2 separate regions of the Homo sapiens genome follow, and region 2 is linked to region 1. Evidence: promoter capture Hi-C in human tissues and cell types (Jung and others, 2019). All regions are on one chromosome and are shown on one strand. Each heading gives the region's core, a stretch centred on a gene start or on the middle of the fragment in contact. The rest is flanking DNA. Distances are from core to core; before and after follow the strand shown.

The links. Contacts are between HindIII fragments. The study calls those that stand out against the background at their distance.
Region 2: a contact is called between a fragment that was not itself captured here and the fragment with the promoter of NLE1 in region 1, in 1 of the 25 tissues and cell types used here (H1 embryonic stem cells).

Annotation. Positions count from the first base shown.
Region 1 is chr17:35,139,152-35,145,214 of GRCh38, reverse strand. It overlaps NLE1 (notchless homolog 1), which reads left to right and starts at 2,912. Exons shown (of 13, transcript NM_018096.5): 1 at 2,912-2,957; 2 at 3,093-3,236; 3 at 5,149-5,366; 4 at 5,901-5,980. The coding sequence starts at 2,940. RefSeq lists an enhancer at 2,604-3,481. The HindIII fragment of the contact is 6,679 bases long and covers 1-5,378 here.
Region 2 is chr17:35,275,974-35,281,791 of GRCh38, reverse strand. No RefSeq gene overlaps it. Among named protein-coding and RNA genes, the nearest start is that of SLFN5, 36 kb to the right of the region's middle. The HindIII fragment of the contact is 4,983 bases long and covers 1,273-5,818 here.

The sequences.
Region 1 (6,063 bases), core at 1,663-4,162:
AGACATGATCTCACCATGTTGCCCAGTCTGGTCTCAAACTCCTGGGCTCAAGTGATACTCCCACCTCGGCCTCCCAAAGTGCTGAGATTACAGGTGTGAGCCACTGTGCCAGCTGGATCTGTGATTTCTAAATGTGAGGAATACCAGGATGTTTTGAAAACATACAACAGGGAAATATGACATCATATGACATCATTTCAAAGGTTTCCCTGCGTAAGTGATAAATGAGTTGATACACATAGAACTCCGACAACGTCTGGCAGAGAGTAGGCACTCAATACATTTATTGGATGAATGAATAAATATTCAAGGCAAGACCTGAAGAATGAGGAACTATTCCTGTATTAGTTGGCTCTGGCTACCATAACAAAATAGCACAGACAGGGAGGCTTCAACAACAGAAATTTATTTTCTCACAGCTCTGGAGTAGAGAAATCCAAGGTCAAGGTGCCATGAGGGTTGGTTTCTGGTGAGGCCTCTCTTCCTGGATGCAAACAGCCACCTTCTCACTGTGTCCTACTATGGCCTCATCTTTGTGTGTGCTCAGGGAGGCAGTGCGGGGGGCGGGGAGAGACAGAGAGAGAGTACTCTGGAGTCTCCTCATTTCACAAGGGCACCAGTTCTATCTGATTAGTGTCCTACCCATACAAACTCACTTATTAACCCTTCCTATGTCCTTTCAGGGCCCATCTCCAGGCCAGGCATGGTGGCTTACACCTGTAATCCCAGCACTTTGGAAGGCCTAAGACAGGAAGATCATTTGAGGCCAAGAGTTCGAGACCAGCTTAGGCAACAGAGTGACAGCCTTGTCTCTACAAAAATTTTTAAAAGTTAGCCGAGTGTCAGGTATAGTGGCACACACCTGTTGTCCTAGCTACTCAGAACACTAAGGTAAGAAGAGCACTTGAGCCTGGGAGTTTGAAGCTGTGTGAGCTATGATCACACTACTACACTCTAGTCTGGGCAACAGAGTGAGACCCTGTCTCTAAAAAAAAAAAAAAAAAACAATAATAATAATATATGCTATCTCCAAATACAGCCACATTCAGAGCTAGGGCTTCAATATATAAATTAGGGCAGAGGCGTCCAATCTTTTGGCTTCTCTGGGCCACAGTGGAAAAAGAATTGCCTTGGGCTACACATAAAATACACTAATGATAGCTGATGAGCTGAAAAAAAAAATCGAAAGAAAATCTCATAATGTTTTAAGAAAGCTTACGAATTTGTGTTGGGCTGCATTCAAAGCCATCCTGGGCTGCATGCAGCCTGTGGCCCAGGGGTTGGACAAGCTTGAATTAGGGGAAGGGCACAATTCACTCCATAACAGTTCCAGACAGAAAAAACTGCATGGGCAAAATCACTGATGCAGGAAGAGCCATGCCTTGTAAGAACTCAGAAAAAGCCAGCAAGATTTAACCTAAAGAGAGGGGTGGCTGGACATAGCAAGGCTGAATTGACCATTATAAGGAGTGTTCTTTTTTTCCTGCATGTAAGGGAGCCGTCGCAGGGTTTGAGGGTGAAGAGCAGCAGGCCAGATTTTTGGTCTGAAAAGATAACCCTGGCTGCATCGTGGAGAATGGGTAGAAAGAGGCAGGAATGGAAATGGGGGGGCTCATCGGGAGGCTGTTGTAGCGGTCCAGGCAGGTGATGATGGTGACTCTGACCAGAGTGAGGCAGTGGAGATGGGGAGAGCAGATTCAAGCTGTGTTCATGAGGATGACTTGGCAGAGCTTGAGACTGCCTGAGCAGTGGAGGGAGAGAGAGGAGAGTTGGCAAGGGAGATCCTTCGTTTCAGGCAAAAGAGCTCAAGTTCATTGCTGTCTGCTTCAGTTCCTCAGTAATATGGGGAGAAAAGGGTTGTAAGAATTAAATGAGTTATGTGGGAAAGCACTTAGAACAATTCCTGACTTGTTGATGTCATTATCACTATTATTGCTTTACAGCATTGATGATTGTAGAAATGATTTGCTTTTGTACTCGAGTATTATTGAGTTGATCCATTTTATTTATTTATTTATTTATTTATTTATTTATTTATTTATTTATTTATTGAGACAGAGTCTTGCTCTGTCATCCAGGCTGGAGTGCAGTGGTGAGAGCTCGGCTCACTGCAACCTCTGCCTCCCAGGTTCAAGAGAATCTACCACCTCAGCCTCTCCAGTAGCTATGACCACAGGCGCATGCCACCACGGCTGGTTAATTTTTTTGTATTTTTAGTAGAGACCTGGTTTCACCATGTTGGCCAGGCTGGTCTCGAACTCCTGGACTCAAGTGATCTGCTCGCCTGGGCCTTCCAAAGCGCTGGGATTACAGGTGTCAGCCACCACGCCCAGCCTTGACTTGATCCATTTTTAAAAGGATACTAATTTCTAGGCTAGGCGTGGTGGCTCACACCTGTAATCCCAGCACTTTGGGACACTGAGGCTGGGGAGTGGGGGACTTGCTGCTTGAGTTCAGGAGTTTGAGACCAGCCTGGGCAACATAGTGAGACCTCGTCTCTACAAAAAATGAGAAAAAAATAACCGGGCAGGGTGTCATGTGCCTGTAGTCCAGGCTACTCTGAGGCTGAGGTGGGAGGATCGCTGTGCCAGAAAGTTCGAGACTGCAGTGAGCCGTGGTGGCACCACTGCCCTCCAGTCTGGGCGACGGAGTGAAACTCTGTCTCAAAATGAAATTAAATTAAAATGGGGCAAGAATCCCTGTTGTGAAGAGTCAAAAGTTTACTGTGTCCTCTAAGACCCTGGCGAAAAATAAATGTGAAGGCTGTTGAGGGGCGGGAGGAGCACCAGGTAAGCCCATTTCTAATCCCTGAGGCCGTGCGCAGCGGGACGCTTCTCCTCCCCAACAGCAGAGGGCGATGTGGCCGGCGGCGACCCCGCCCGACCACGGAGACGGCGCTCTGTCTGCCGGGCTCTTTCTCCTCCACGTGGGGACGCAGGATGGCGGCAGCAGTGCCGGTGGGTGTGCGTGGATGGGGGCGGGGGGCGTCGCCGCGGGGCGCTAGGGCCCGGGTCCCTGAGGCCTGAGAGAGGCGAAGTGGGGCCCTTCTGGGCGGGCGACCAGACTGACTCCCGCCCCACTTGCTCGCGCAGGACGAGGCGGTGGCGCGCGATGTGCAGCGGTTGCTAGTGCAGTTCCAGGATGAGGGCGGGCAGCTGCTGGGTTCCCCGTTCGACGTGCCCGTGGACATCACCCCGGACAGGCTGCAGCTCGTGTGCAACGCGCTACTGGCCCAGGTAAGTGGCTGGCCAGGGCGGCCTCGCATCTCCACCCCCGGGCGGATGCGGTGGGGGAATCATATTACCGAGGGTCTGCGGTTCATGGTCCCCCGCTAACGGACTGTGGTGACCCACCTGGCGTGAGCTCCCACCTATGTCAGAGATGGAATCAGTGGCATAGCGCTTTACACGCCAACCAAAGGGGTCCACCTGCGGAGAGGGGCCTAGCTTTGAACGCACCGGATGCTGTATTTCATTGATTCTTTGTCACAGTCCCCCAGTCTGGGACACGTTAATATCCCCATTTTACAGCGTGGCCCGGAGGGACTCAGTATTTTGCACGATGCTATGTAGTAGGTAGCAGATTTGGAATTGGAACCCAAAACTATCCGAATACCCATGCTTTTATTTATTTATTTATTTACCTTTTTTTTTTTTTTTTTTGAGACGGAGTCTCACTTTGTCGCCAGGCTGGCAAGCTGGAGTGTAGTGGCGTGATCTCTGCTCACTGCAATCTCTGCCTCCCAGGTTCAAGCGATTCTCCTGCCTCAGCCTCCCGAGTAGCTGGGACTACAGGCGCGCGCCACCACACCCAGCTAATTTTTGTATTTTTAGTGGGGACTGGGTTTCACCACGTTGGCCAGGATGGTCTCGATCTCTTGACCTCGTGATCCTCCCGCCTTGGCCTCCAAAGTGCTGGGGATTACTGGCGTGAGCCACCGCACCCGGCCTTTGCTTTTAACCTTTAAGCCAGTGTGTTTACTGAAGAGCTGCCCTGGGGACAGGGGAGGTCCTTAAAATTGCAGTTCCTGGACCCCATCCCAGCCTTACTAAACCAAACTCTGGGATGAAGCAGAAAGTCTACATTTTTTAACAGGCGTTTTGGGAGCTTTTTACACAAATATAGTGTAGTGTGGTAGTTTGGGAAACACTGCATAATGCTATATGCTAATCCTATCTTGGACGTAAAGAACCTGAATTAATCATTGGCAATAGGACATTGAACTAATTACTTAGTTGTTCTGAGCCTCTGCTTTTGAAAACTGTCAGTGGGAATATTAGTATCTACTTCCCACGGTTGTTATGAGATGCAGATAAAGAATTTCAGGCCGGGTGCAGTGGCTTATGCCTGTAATCCCAGTACTTTGGGAGGCTGAGGTGGGCAGATCACTAGAGGTCAGGAGTTCGAGACCAGCTTAGCCAATATGGCGAAAACAGTCTCTACTGAAAATACAAAAATTAGCCAGGCGTGGTGGCAGGCGCCTGTAGTCCCAGCTCCTCGGGAGGCTGAAGCAGGAGAATTGCTTGAACCCAGGAGGCAGAGGTTGCAGTGAGCTGAGATCTCACCACTGCACTCCAGCCTGAGTAACAGAACGAGACTCCATCTCAAAAAAAAAAGAAAAAAGAATTTCCAAGTGCTGTGTAAGTGTCCTGCAACTGCTGTTCAGTGACTTAAAAGGTCTTGCTAGGCTGGGCACAGTGGCTCACGCCTGTAATCCCAGCACTTTGGGAGGCCGAGGCAGGTGGATCACCTGAGGTCAGGAGCTTGAGACCAGCCTGGCCAATGTGGCGAAACCCCGTATCTACTAAAAATATAAAACTTAGCCAGGCGTGGTGATGGGTGCCTGTAATCCCAGCTACTCGGGAGGCTGAGGCAGGAGAATCTCTTGAACCCAGGACGCGGAGGTTGCAGTGAGCAGAGATTGCTCCACTGCACTCCAGCCTGGGTGACAGAGCGAGACTCTTGTCTCAAAAATAAATAAATAAATAAATAAAAGGTCTTGCTCAATGGGCAATGATGGGGGTATCCCTAGCACGATGGCTGAAAAGAAGAAGCTTCACCTCCCACAGCTCAGTGGGGAGCATCCCTGGCAGAGGGTGCCCCTGCACATCCATTGTTGCGGGTTTGTCCTTTACCATTGTCCTTCAGGAGGATCCCCTGCCACTGGCTTTCTTTGTCCACGATGCTGAGATCGTCTCCTCACTGGGGAAGACGTTGGAGTCCCAGGCAGTGGAGACAGAGAAGGTCCTAGACATCATCTACCAGCCACAGGCTATCTTCAGAGTCCGGGCTGTGACTCGCTGCACCAGCTCCTTGGAGGGTCACAGTGAGGCAGTCATTTCTGTGGCCTTCAGCCCTACGGGAAAGTAAGGACAGCTGCAGACTCATGGAGGGGGTATGTGGGGGTGCAGTCTTTGCCTGGTTTGGGGAGGGTCTCCCAGAGTTATAATTGATGGGGCCTCAGGGCTGCCTACCATAGACCCAAGCTCTGGACTCAGCTTGCAATTAAGGGACTTCCTCAGTAGGGCATGGTCCCCAAAGGCTGCTTAAGGACCCCTGCCTTGGACAAACCTCTCCTAGACTTGATTTTTCAAGATCTGAGCTGTGTGACTTGTATAAATCACTTAACCTTTCCGAGTTAATTTTTCATCTGTGAAACTGGGATTAGTTGCTTCTCTCAAACTTAGAAAGGTAATGAGAAGCTTCAAAAGCTGGTTATAGCTGTGGAGAGGAAAGAAATGGCCTCCTGATGTATTCTCCCAGAGGACAGCATCAGTATTGTCTTTCTCCCTTCCAGGGGCGAGGAAAGAGTCCAGTTCCATATTCTATTCACAGAAAGTGATTGAATAGGTGGCACAAATGCACATGTGCAGTGTCAAGCATCCTCTCTTCTTCCCCAGGTACCTGGCCAGTGGCTCTGGAGACACCACCGTGCGCTTCTGGGATCTCAGCACAGAGACACCACATTTCACATGCAAGGGTCAGTATGCAATTAGCCATTTAGGGGGTCTTCTTTTTTTTTGAGACAAGGTCTTGCTCTGTTGACCAGGATGGAGTACAGTG
Region 2 (5,818 bases), core at 2,515-5,014, 140 kb before region 1:
TTCATCTACATCTTTAGTATGCATTCCCATACTTGCCTCCCAGGTCCTGCCAATACACACAAATGAGATCTGGAACATTTTTGTGTACAAGCTCCCTCTTCAAGAACAGGCCTTTATTTCTGCATCTGGACTATGTTGAGATCTAACTCTTTTTTTTATATATACTTTAAGTTTTAGGGTACATGTGCATAACGTGCAGGTTTGTTACATATGTATACGTGTGCCATGTTGGTGTGCTGCACCCATTAACTTGTCATTTAACATTAGGTATATCTCCTAATGCTCTCCCTCCCCCCTCCCCCCACCGTACAACAGGCCCTGGTGTGTGATGTTCCCCTTCCTGTGTCCATGTATTCTCATTGTTCAATTCCCACCTGTGAGTGAGAACATGCAGTGTTTGGTTTTTTGTCCTTGCGATAGTTTGCTGAGAATGATGGTTTCCAGCTTCATCCATGTCCCTACAAAGCACATGAACTCATCCTTTTTAATGGCTGCATCGTGTACCATGGTGTATATGTGCCACATTTTCTTAATCTATCATTGTTGGACATTTGGGTTGGTTCCAAGTCTTTGCTATTGTGAATAGTGCTGCAATAAACATATGTGTGCATGTGTCTTTATAGCAGCATGATTTATAGTCCTTTGGGTATATACCCAGTAATGGGATGGCTGGGTCAAATGGTATTTCTAGTTCTAGATCCCTGAGGAATCGCCACACTGACTTCCACAATGGTTGAACTAGTTTACAGTCCCACCAACAGTGTGAAAGTGTTCCTATTTCTCCACATCCCCTCCAGCACCTGTTGTTTCCTGACTTTTTAATGATCGCCATTCTAACTGGTGTGAGATGATATCTCATTGTGGTTTTGATTTGCATTTCTCTGATGGCCAGTGATGATGAGCATTTTTTCATGTGTCTTTTGGCTGCATAAATGCCTTCTTTTGAGAAGTGTCTGTTCATATCCTTCGCCCACTTGTTGATGGGGTTGTTTGTTTTTGTCTTGTAAATTTGTATGAGTTCATTGTAGATTCTGGATATTAGCCCTTCGTCAGTTGAGTAGATTGCAAAAATTTTCTCCCATTCTGTAGGTTGCCTGTTCACTCTGATGGTAGTTTCTTTTGCTGTGCAGAAGCTCTTTAGTTTAATTAGATCCCATTTGTCAGTTTTGGCTTTTGCTGCCATTGCTTTTGGTGTTTTAGACATGAAGTCCTTGCCCATGCCTATGTCCTGAATGGTATTGCCTAGGTTTTCTTCTAGGGTTTTTATGGCTTTAGGTCTAACATTTAAGTCTTTAATCCATCTTGAGTTAATTTTTGTATAAGGCATAAGGAAGGGGTCCACTTTCAGTTTTCTGCATGTGGCTAGCCAGTTTTCCCAACACCATTTATTGAATAGGGAATCCTTTCCCCATTGCTTGTTTTTGTTAGGTTTGTCAGATCAAATGGTTGTGGATGTGTGGTGTTATTTCTGAGGCCTCTGTTCTGTTCCATTGGTCTATATGTCTGTTTTGGTACCAGCACCATGCTGTTTTGGTTACTGTAGCCTTGTAGTATAGTTTGAAGTCAGGTAGCGTGATGTCTCCAGCTTTGTTCTTTTGGTTTAGGATTGATTTGGCAATGTGGGCTCTTTTTTGGTTCCATATGAACTTTAAAGTAGTTTTTTCCAATTCTGTGAAGAAAATCATTGGTACCTTGATGGGGATGGCATTGAATCTATAAATTACCTTGGGCAGTATGACCATTTTCACGATATTGATTCTTCCTACCCATGAGCATGGAATGTTCTTCCATTTGTTTGTATCCTCTTTTATTTCATTGAGCAGTGGTTTGTAGTTCTCCTTGAAGAGGTCCTTCACATCCCTTGTAAGTTGGATTCCTAGTTATTTTATTCTCTTTGAAGCAATTGTGAATGGGAGTTCACTCATGATTTGGCTCTCTGTCTGTTATTGGTGTATAAGAATGCTTGTGATTTTTGCACATTCATTTTGTATCCTGAGACTTTGCCGAAGTTGCCTATCAGCTTAAGGAGATTTTGGGCTGAGACGATGGTGTTTTCTAGATATACAATCATGTCATCTGCAAACAGGGACAATTTGACTTCCTCTTTTCCTAATTGAATACCATTTATTTCCTTCTCTTGCCTGATTGCCCTGGCCAGAACTTCCAACACTATGTTGAATAGGAGTGGTGAGAGAGGGCATCCCTGTCTTGTGCCAGTTTTCAAAGGGAATGCTTCCAGTTTGTGCCCATTCAGTATGATATTGGCTGTGGGTTTGTCATAGATAGCTCTTATTATTTTGAGATATGCCCCATTGAGAGGTGACAGCGTGCTGTCAGTCCTCACAGCCCTCGCTTGCTCTCGGCGCCTCCTCTGCCTGGGCTCCCACTTTGGCGGCACTTGAGGAGCCCTTCAGCCCACCGCTGCACTGTGGGAGCCCCTTTCTGGGCTGGCCAAGGCCAGAGCCAGCTCCCTCAGCTTGAAGGGAGGTGTGGAGGGAGAGGCCTGAGCGGGAACCAGGGCTGTGCGCGGTGCTTGTGGGCCAGCTGGAGTTCCGGGTGGGCGTGGGCATGGCGGGCCCCAAACTCAGAGCAGCCGGCTGGCTCTGCCGCCCGGGGGAATGAGGGGCTTAGCACCCGGGCCAGCGGCTGCGGAGGGTGTACTGGGTCCCCCAGAACTGCCAGCCCACCAGCGCCGTGCTCGATTTCTCACCGGGCCTTAGCTGCCTTCCCGTGGGGCAGGGCTCGGGACCTGCAGCCCGCCATGCCTGAGCCTCCCACCCCCTCCGTGGGCTCCAGTGCGGCCGGAGCCTCCCCGACGAGCGCCATCCCCTGCTCCAGGGCGCCCAGTCCCATCGACCACCCAAGGGCTGAGGAGTGCGGGCGCACGGCACCAGGACTGGCAGGCAGCTCCACCTGCTGCCCTGGTGGGGGATCCACTGGGTGAAGCCAGCTGGGCTCCTGAGTCTGGTGGGGACGTGGAGGACCTTTATGTCTAGCTCAGGGTTTGTGAATGCACCAGTGGACACTCTGTATCTAGCTAATCTGGTGGGGACATGGAGAACCTTTGTGTCTAGCTCAGGTATTGTAAACGCACCAACCAGCGCCCTGTCAAAACAGACCACTGGGCTCTACCAATCAGCAGGATGTGGGTGGGGCCAGATAAGAGAATAAAAGCAGGCTTCCTGAGCCAGCGGTGGCAACTTACTGGGGTCCCCTTCCACACTGTGGAAGCTTTGTTCTTTCGCTCTTTGCAATAAATCTTGCTACTGTTCACTCTTTGGGTCCACACTGCTTTTATGAGCTGTAACACTCACCGTGAAAGTCTGCAGCTTCACTCCTGAAGCCAGCGAGACCACGAGCCCATGGGGAGGAACGAACAACTCCAGACGTGCTGCCTTAAGAGCTGTAACACTCACCGTCGAAGGTCTGCAGCTTCACTCCTGAGCCAGAGAGACCATGAACCCACCAGAAGGAAGAAACTCCTAACACATCCGAACATCAGAAGGAACAAACTCCAGATGCGCCACCTTAAGAGCTGTAACACTCACCACGAGGGTCCCTGGCTTCATTCTTGAAGTCAGTGAGACCAAGAACCCACCAATTCCGGTCACACCATCAATACCTAATTTATTGAGAGTTTTTAGCATGAAGCATTGTTGAATTTTGTCAAAGGCCTTTTCTACATCTATTGAGATAATCATATGGTTTTTGTCATTGGTTCTGTTTATATGCTGGATTACATTTATTGATTTGCGTATGTTGAACCAGCCTTGCATCCCAGGGATGAAGCCCACTTGATCATGGTGGATAAGCTTTTTGATGTGCTGCTGGATTCGGTTTGCCAGTATTTTATTGAGGATTTTCGCATCAATGTTCGCCAGGGATATTGGTCTAAAATTCTATTTTTTTGTTGTGTCTCTGCCAGGCTTTGGTATCAGGATGATGCTGGCCTCATAAAATGAGTTAGGGAGGATTCCCTCTTTTTCTATTGATTGGAATAGTTTCAGAAGGAATGGTACCAGCTCCTCCTTGTACCTCTGGTAGAATTCGGCTGTGAATCCATCTGGTCCTGGGCTTTTTTTGGTTGGTAAGCTATTAATTATTGCCTCAATTTCAGAACTTGTTATTGGTCTATTCAGGGATTCAACTTCTTCCTGGTTTAGTCTTGGGAGGGTGTATGTGTTGAGGAATTCATCCATTTCTTCTAGATTTTCTAGTTTATTTGTGTAGAGGTGTTTATAGTATTCTCTGATGGTAGTTTGTATTTCTGTGGGATTGGTGCTGATATCCCCTTTATGATTTTTTATTGGGTCTATTTGATTCTTCTCTCTTTTCTTCTTTATTGGTCTTGCTAGCGGTCCATCAGTTTTGTTGATCTTTTCAAAAAACCAGCTCCTGGATTCATTGATTTTTTGAAGGATTTTTTTTGTGTCTGTATTTCCTTCAGTTCTGCTCTGATCTTAGTTATTTCTTGCCTTCTGCTAGCTTTTGAATGTGTTTGCTCTTGCTTCTCTAGCTCTTTTAATTGTGGTGTTAGAGTGTCAATTTTAGATCTTTCCTGCTTTCTCTTGTGGTTATTCAGTGCTATAAATTTCCCTCTACACACAGCTTTGAATGTGTCCCAGAGATTCTGGTATGTTGTGTCTTTGTTCTTGTTGGTTTCAAAGAACATCTTTATTTCTGCCTTCATTTCGTTATGTACCCAGTAGTCATTCAGGAGCAGGTTGTACAGTTTCCATGTAGTTGAGCGGTTTTGAGTGAGTTTCTTAGTCCTGAGTTCTAGTTTGATTGCACTGTGGTCTGAGAGAGAGTTTGTTATAATTTCTGTTCTTTTGCATTTGCTGAGGAGTCCTTTACTTCCAACTATGTGGTCAATTTTGGAATAAGTGTGGTGTGGTGCTGAGAAGAATGTATATTCTGTTGATTTGGGGTGGAGAGGTCTGTAGATGTCTATTAGCTCTGCTTGGTGCAGAGCTGAGTTCAATTCCTGGATATCCTTGTTAACTTTCTGTCTCGTTGATCTGTCTAATGTGGACAGTGGGGTGTTAAAGTCTCCCATTATTATTGTGTGGGAGTCTAAGTTTCTTTGTAGGTCTCTAAGGACTTGCTTTATGAATCTGGGTGATCCTGTATTGGGCGCATATATATTTAGGATAGTCAGCTCTTCTTGTTGAATTGATCCCTTTACCATTATGTAATGGCCTTCTTTGTCTCTTTTGATCTTTGTTGGTTTAAAGTCTGTTTTATCAGAGACTGGGATTGCAACCCCTGCCTTTTTTTGTTTTCCATTTGCTTGGTAGATCTTCCTCCATCCCTTTATTTTGAGCCTATGTGTGTCTCTGCATGTGAGATGGGTTTCCTGAATACAGCACACTGATGGGTCTTGACTCTTTATCCAGTTTGCCACTCTGTGTCTTTTAATTGGAGCATTTAGCCCATTTACATTTAAGGTTAAGATTATTATGTGTTAGCTTCCTTCAGGAGCTCTTGTAAGGCAGGCCTGGTGGTGACAAAATCTCTCAGCATTTGCTTGTCTGTAAAGGATTTTATTTCTCCTTCACTTATGAAGCTTTAGTTTGGCTGGATATGAAATTCTGGGTTGAAATTTCTTTTCTTTAAGAATGTTGAATATTGGTCCCCACTCTCTTCTGGCTTGTAGAGTTCCTGCCAAGAGACCAGCTGTTAGTCTGATGGGCTTCCCTTTGTGGGTAACCCGACCTTTCTCTCTGGCTGCCCTTAACATTTTTTCCTTCATTTCAACTTTGGTGAATCTGACAATTATGTGTCTTGGAGTTGCTCTTCTCGAGGAGTATCTTTG